2 separate regions of the Homo sapiens genome follow, and region 2 is linked to region 1. Evidence: promoter capture Hi-C in 16 types of primary human blood cells and fetal thymus (Javierre and others, 2016). All regions are on one chromosome and are shown on one strand. Each heading gives the region's core, a stretch centred on a gene start or on the middle of the fragment in contact. The rest is flanking DNA. Distances are from core to core; before and after follow the strand shown.

What was found. Contacts are between HindIII fragments. The CHiCAGO score rates a contact against its expected background, and 5 or more counts as called.
Region 2: a contact is called between a fragment that was not itself captured here and the fragment with the promoter of BTAF1 in region 1, in 3 of 17 cell types (total CD4 T cells, fetal thymus and total CD8 T cells). The highest score is 8.8, in total CD4 T cells.

The regions. Positions count from the first base shown.
Region 1 is chr10:91,921,854-91,925,522 of GRCh38, forward strand. It overlaps BTAF1 (B-TFIID TATA-box binding protein associated factor 1), which reads left to right and starts at 1,917. Exons shown (of 38, transcript NM_003972.3): 1 at 1,917-2,237. The coding sequence starts at 2,224. RefSeq lists enhancers at 659-1,192, 1,540-1,649, 2,260-2,459 and a silencer at 1,900-2,199. The HindIII fragment of the contact is 1,276 bases long and covers 1,698-2,973 here.
Region 2 is chr10:90,888,243-90,891,911 of GRCh38, forward strand. The region is part of intron 6 of RPP30 (ribonuclease P/MRP subunit p30); the gene reads left to right. Among named protein-coding and RNA genes, the nearest start is that of RPP30, 18 kb to the left of the region's middle. The HindIII fragment of the contact is 236 bases long and covers 1,906-2,141 here.

The DNA.
Region 1 (3,669 bases), core at 667-3,166:
CTCTTACGCCTTTGCACTACGTATACCCTCTTCCTGGAAGGCTCCCAGATTGTCACACATTTAGCTACCTCTTGTCATTTAGGGCTCAGCTTAAGCTAATCCTGTTTTTCCCTGATTTACCCAGTAAGAGTAGGTCTTTAATCATACCATTAATTCCATCATTCTCTTTACATAGCACATAAATATATTTTCAATGTTTATCTATTTTCTTTTTCCTTTCCTTTTAATGTAAATTCAACCAGAGTAGGCACCTTGTCTGTTCTGGTTTCTTCAGAAGTTCCAGTCTCTCATATGGTAGGTGCTTAATTTTGGCTAAATGATTGCTGTACACGATCAGTAAAAAGTATCTGCTTGTTATTGAATGGTGGGAGATAAACTGATGAGGCAAGTAGGTGACTAAAGTGAAAATGTAAAGATATCTTGAACATCAACTTGATTAGATTTTAATAGCATGAACACCGCCAAGCAGAGTTTCTGATACAGAGAGGTGACAAACATTTGTTGAATGACTGGACAATAAATATTATTACTAGCTTGAATCTTGAGGCAAATTACTTAACCTTTCTGAGCTTAGTTTCCTTGTCTACGAAGATTAAAACTAACTTTTCAAGGCTTCCCTACAAATTATATGGATAATGCATGTCATGTGCCCAGCACACAGCAGGTACTTGTTAGTTTCTTTCTCTTTACATACATATATACTACTTTATGGTTTACAAAGTTCTTGTAAGCTCTTCTAGATTCATGACCTCATTTTATTCCCACAATCTTCTGCAGTACTTCTCATTAGCCTCATTTTACAGATGAAAAACAGACTCAAGGATTGAGACATAGCCTCTTCAGGTAATGAGAAGCCAATGGACATGCTTTATAAGCATAGGAGCGACATGATAAAAAGCAGTGAGGTTTTTTGAAGATTAATCTGTTGGCCTATAAAATGGGCTGAACTGAAAATTGGAGAAATATTATTTTGACTACTAGCATAAAAATCAAGTTTAAGGGCCGGGCGCAGTGGCTCACACCTGTAATCCCAGCACTTTGGGAGGCCGAGGCGGGCAGATCACTTGAGGCCAGGAGCAGGAGACAAGCCTGGCCTACATGGCGAAACCCCGTCTCTACTAAAAAATACAAAAAATTGGCCCGGCGTGGGGCTCGTGTGCCTCCCAGCTACTCGGGAGGTTGAGGCACATTTAGAATCGCTTGAACCCGGTAAGCGCAGGTTGGCAGTGAGCCGAGATCGCGCCACTGCACTCCAGCCTGGGCGACAGAGCGAAACTCGGTCAAAAAAAAAAAATCAAGTGTAAGATGATAAGGGCCTGGCAGAAGTGTTTAAAAGCCTAATGAACTTAAAAATATTGAAAAGCCAGATAAGTCCCCCAAAGGAACAAAAATTTAAAAATGGTAGTTTTCAAATCTGGCTGGCTGAGAAAATGATGGTACAAACAACATAAACAATTGAGAAATCAAACTTGGCAAAATCGTTGGTCAGAAGACCTTCTCTCCAATACCTAGGCAGAACTTCTGGCAAATAATGACAAACATCTGAGCCATTTCTTCAGTGTCATAGCGACTTTTTGCTTTCACTCCTCCCACTGGCTTCACCACCTGGACAAGAGCATGTTAAGGTCCTTCTGATCTTGCTTCCTAGATGCAGTACGGTGGGAAGCAGAATCTGGGTAGTGTGGAATTAGAAACCAAGCTTTCGAAGTTCCAGGACTTGGACTAAATCGCCTTTTTCCTTCTCTGTCAAATAAGGGGACCCTTACTTCACCTCCTTCCCTAGTTTTAAGACTAGACACCCTCTCCACATCAGCACAAAGCGCTTTTATTTAGGCGCGTGCCGCCAAACCAAAGGCGCTCGCGCCGAGCTAAGCTCCTGTCGGTGAGCTTACGTCACTTCCGGCGCGCTGACGCTCAGTTGTGCGTGCCGACGCCCGCGTCAGCAAAGAGCGGAGCTGAGGGTACCCGGTTTGAAGTCGTGCGGGTCGGAGGACTGCCGCCTCCGCTACCGTCTTGGACCCCTGCTTACCGGCCGCCGCGGGGACGAGCTCGGGTAGGCGGCAGGGCAGATGCCCGAGGGCCTGCGCTGGAACGCCCCACGCCGCACCGGCCGCTCCCCTGTGCTCCGCGGCCTGGGCCTGCGCCGCTCAGCTCTCTGGAAACTAGCGCCTCAGCTGCGCGGCGCGTAGGTCGCGGGGAGCTCCGAACCGCCGGCGCCCGGCCATGGCGGTCTCCAGGTGGGTCTTGCTCCTGACGAGCAAACTGGAAGGCGATTCAGGGAAGGCATGGTCTCCTCTTAGAGCCCCCACTCCTAGAGAAGAGCGGTTCTCATTGTCACTGGGCTCTGGAGCTTTCTTCAGTAGACTTCGGAGTTCGCCCCGTGGTCGGCGGGGGTTTGGGCTCGGGTTACTCCTGGGTAAATCGGTTCAATAATGCCTTTTTCTTGTTAATAGACCCCTTGGCACGTTAGAGCTGTTTTTTCTCTTTCCTCACCATGTTTCTGTTCTCTGGTTTCTCTTCCCTCTTTCGATTCTAGGGGAGTCTCTTATCTTTCTCAGTATTCTAAGGCTGGTCCCTAACCTCCATTTCATGGGAAAACTTGGTAGTTACTGTCGATGGAGGGGAAACCTGAATTACTATTATCTAAGAGACCGTCTAATTATGTTACCAGTTTTAATTTACGTTTTTAGGGGTATGTTCTTTCCTGAGATGTTTTTTAAAATTAAGTATAATTTCTCCTTTTGTTTGGCAGTAAACATTCCAACGTCAGCGTTGTAACCTTAAGCCAATTATCGTATTAGCATCATTTTCCGTAACTAAGGCGTGGAAGATAAATCACAGATCTTATATTCTTTTGAAATATTGCCTGTCAACAGGAAAGCCCAGGAAAACTATAGAAAAACTAACGACATTTATTTGTATAGCTATAGGAGAAACATTACTTTTTCCTCCGGTATGATAGAATGGTTGGAAAGCTTTTGTAAGCGGAATTTGGTGACCCTCTGTACATGTAATTAAGGGATAGTTCCTCTGTGATAGTGATCGGATGGATTCACCAAGTTCCTTAGAGTTGATATGGTAACTTTTAATGAGAATTGGATTCTTTTACCATATAGACTGAAGGAATAAATGATGAAAACAAATAGTTTTCATTTTTTTATAATTAACTGAACACATTCTTTGAGCGTATTAAGTGCACAAGTTTTATCTGTTTTGCAAGGGAAAGGATAACCCATTCCTTACAGACTCCCTAGATGACTGATGAAATAGTGTGTGGGAGAAGCCCATGGGAGTTGGGTGAAGGGGGTTGCTAGGTACCGTAGTATGGGGCATCTGATTTTTATTTTATAATCTATTCAATGTGAGGAAATTTTTTTTTAAATAAAACTGCCTTGAGAGAATACAAGTGACATTTTACATTTTTGCAAATATAGAAAGGTGTATCTTCTAATTTGTTACCTCCCATATAAATGCATGAATATATACATTGTAAATGCATTGATATGTAAACTTAATATAACATTTATCAGGTAATAGTGTTTAAGGAGATGAGTACTTCTTTTCTTAGAGCAACCTGTGCATTTTCACAGGATTGGATGTAGCTTTATAAAGACAAAATGAAAGTGTTTAAAAAGAACCTAATTTTCGGGCAACGCTAATCTCTTTTTT
Region 2 (3,669 bases), core at 774-3,273, 1.0 Mb before region 1:
GCCCACATACGATACTGTGACCTTTGATGGGAGGAGCTAGCATGTGATGTTAAGGCCAAGTCCATGGAATGGACAGCAATGCACAACAGATAATTCCTCATGTCTCACGACAGTGGTAAGATTCCCAGTGGCTGCTTTGGTGAGAGCTTTTAATTGGGGTTCTTAGGAACTTGTATTATTATTTAAACCAGAGTGTGAGCTCCTAGAGAACACCGGCTGTCATGGTCCTTTTTTAAGTACTCCACTATCTTGCGTATAATGAGTCCTCCTTACAGTTTGTTGAGTCAATAAGTACATGTTGAACTTAGCATATCAGGGTACAGCATAGGGGACCTGGCCAAATTCTGCTCGTTGTTAGTCACCAGCTGGATGTCCACATTCATCAGGAAGTATATGCCGTGAGGGAAGTGGGGCAGTGGGGCAACATGAGGAGGACAGTGGCACTCAAGACAGTTGACACCAGGACACCCCACCCCCTGATTCCATTGGGAAGTTCAGGAAAGCTCCTTTCGTTTGATGGGCATTTTTCGCTTAATTCCTACATTTTTCAATTTAAGAATTCTGAAAAGTAAAAAATTCTGTCAAGTGAGAGGGATATGCAGTTTAACATGGTGTCTGCTTTAAAAAAAATCTGGTGTGAACATTTTGCATATGTTGTTTAATAAAAACTAGATGATGGAGTGGAAAGAAAGGCTGCACAAGATTATTTTTAGTCTTCATCTAGTAGAAGAGTAGGCTGCACTGTGAATTGGTCAGGAAGCAGAAGAGTCCCTGTTAATTTATTCACCTATTTTTTATTAAAGAGAGAAAGTTGGAAACATACAGGTGTCTAGCTTGTTGTTCAGAGTAAATAATAGTTGTGGCATAGGTATGTATGTATTATTTGTAACATAATATCCAGTCTGGCTGTGGAGCTGTTTGTCTACATAAAGTATGGAAATGTATACATTGTGAGAGCACAGTCTTGGTCCTTGCATGTTCCCTTGGCTTTGAGTGTAAACTTGTTTTTGGCCTTGAGAAGTTCATAGATTGGCTTTAAAAGGATCACTTTATAAGGATTACTTTTTTTTTTTTTTTTTTTTTTGAGACAGAGTCTCGCTCTGTCCACCCACGCTGGAGTGCAGTGGTGTGATCTCGGCTCACTGCAGCCTCCGCCTCCTCAGTTCAAGCAATTCTCCTGTCTCAGCCTCCCAAGTAGCTGGGATTACAGACATCCGCCACCACAGCTGGCTAATTTTTTTTTTATTTTTAATAGAGTTGGGGTTTCATCATGTTGGCCAGGCTGGTTTTGAACTCCTGACCTCAAGTGATCCACCCGCCTCGGCCAGGATACTTTAAATTAAGCACAGATCTTAATTTTGTCACGATGTGGGCCCTTTTCTTTGGTTGTGGTGAAAAGCAGTATTAAGAAAGGTAAATCATTCATCTTTTACCAATAGGCCAGATGCCATGTGAGAATCATCAGCTTGGAAGGTTGGGATTGTGAAGGAGGGCCCAGGAGCTCTATAGCATACCAAACACTCCATTTGTGTACTTTGCAGCTCTTTTCCCTTTTGTCATCTTCACTGTATGCTTAGGGCACCATAATTTCAATTATGCAATTTCCTCTAAAATCTCCCACAAACCTCTTCTGGAGTCTAAGTAACTTGTCATCGCATTTCTGTCATGTGATAGATGTGTTTCTAAAAAATTGGATTCCACTCCTTTTCTTGAATAATCACATGACTTCAGATTATTTAGCATTTTATGACATAAGCAGTTTGATACCTGCTTTGGCCCAGCAGTTTTGGGATGGGGTAGATGTTAATTATCTCCATATGCAGGTAATACAGTAGAATCTTAGGTAGTTCATGGTTCACACAGTTAAATGACTCTCTCAAGGGGTTGACAAGGGATTTGTACTCAAGCTTTGATTCCAAATCTGCTGTTATTTCCTACTGGGAAATGCTTTTTAAAGTTACTTTACAGCAGAACTCTTTGTTAAGCACAGAGTAATTTCATATTTTAAAACATGAGCTTTATGAATTCAGGTTGTGAGAAGAAGGATGTTCTTAAAACAGCACGTATCTCTTTACTTTCCCTTTGATTTTTTTACAATGTTATTTCCATTTCAATGTTATTGTCACTTAACAATGACTTCAAGCTTATTGAGTTATTTTAAGGGATCTTATATGTTTTACACTCTCTCTGATGTTTTCCCCTCAGTCCTTCCTTTAACCCTAATCCATTTCTGTCTTCGTGGTCCGATTACTCCCCACTGAGAGATGTTTAGTAAGTAGTATCTAAACAGTGAGGTAGTTCCATGAATCATGCTATAAATACTTGATTTGGATGTGAGTGTTCTGTAAACTTTGTTTTATCACACATGAATCTAATGTGTTAAGTACTGTGTCCATTCAGTGCCAGCAAATTGTGCCAGTATTAAAAATTTCTGTGGAAAAAAAAAATGCAAACAACACCAGAAACAAGGTTAAAAGACAGATGACAAACTGATGGAAAATTTTCACTCATGTCATAGACAAAATGCTTATTCCCTTAACACATAAAGACCAAAGAGTGCCTAGAAATTAATAAGTTAAAAAAAAAGATGAACAATACCAAAAAATGGATTAAGAATATGAAAAAGGCATTTCACAGTAAAGGAAATGCAAACAGGCCTTAGACATATGAAAAGATGATTAAATTTATCATAGTAAGAGATTTCACATTAAAATCACCTGTGTGATTAGAGATACACTCTGTTGTAAGGCTGCAGGAAAGCAGACATTCTCATATTTTGCTCGTAACTGTGTAAATGAGAACAGTCCCTATGCGGAGAGTGGGTAATTTGGCAACAACTATTCAAATTACAAATACGTTTACTGATTTAAACAACAGTTTTAAACTGTATGATCTCACAGTTCTGAAGCCTGCAAGTCTGAAATCAAGGTGTCAGCATGGTCTTGTTCCCTCTGAAATCTATAGGACCACCTTCCTTGCCTCTTTTTAGCTTTTGGTGATTTTCTGGCAATCTTTGGTAATCCTGGGCTTGCAGCTACGTAACTCCAGTCTCTGCCTTTGTCTTCAGTGTGTTCTCCCTGTTTGTCTCTATGTCTTCACATGGCCATCGTCTCATAAGACACCAGTCATATTGGATTAGGGGCCTACCCTATTCCAATCTGACTTCATCTTAACTAATTACATCTACAGTGACCCTATTTCCAAATATAAGATTACATTCTGAGGTACTGAGGTTTAGGGCTTCATTGTATCTTTTGTGGATGAGGACGCAATTCAACCCATTATGCCTAGCAATCCCACTTTAGTGTTATTCTACAGATACACTGAAACCACCCAAAGGCTCTCAGTAGAGGTTTGGTTAAATACATGCTATACCTCTACAATATGATACTCTACAACTGTAAAACAGAGGAAGTTATGAGCTGACTTGGAAGAGCTTTCATGTCAGGACAACAATGCAGCAGACTACCTTTTGGATAGGAAAGAAAAATAGTATCTCTTCGTATTTGCTTATAGTTGTATGAAGAAACTCTGGAAGAAGACACAAGAAATTAATAAAAGTGATTATTGGAGGAAGGGATAGGGCAGATAGGATTGGAGATGCAAGTAGTACTTTTTATTGTTTTCTTATGTTGCTTTGTGAGTCATGTGGACAAATTACCTGTCTTA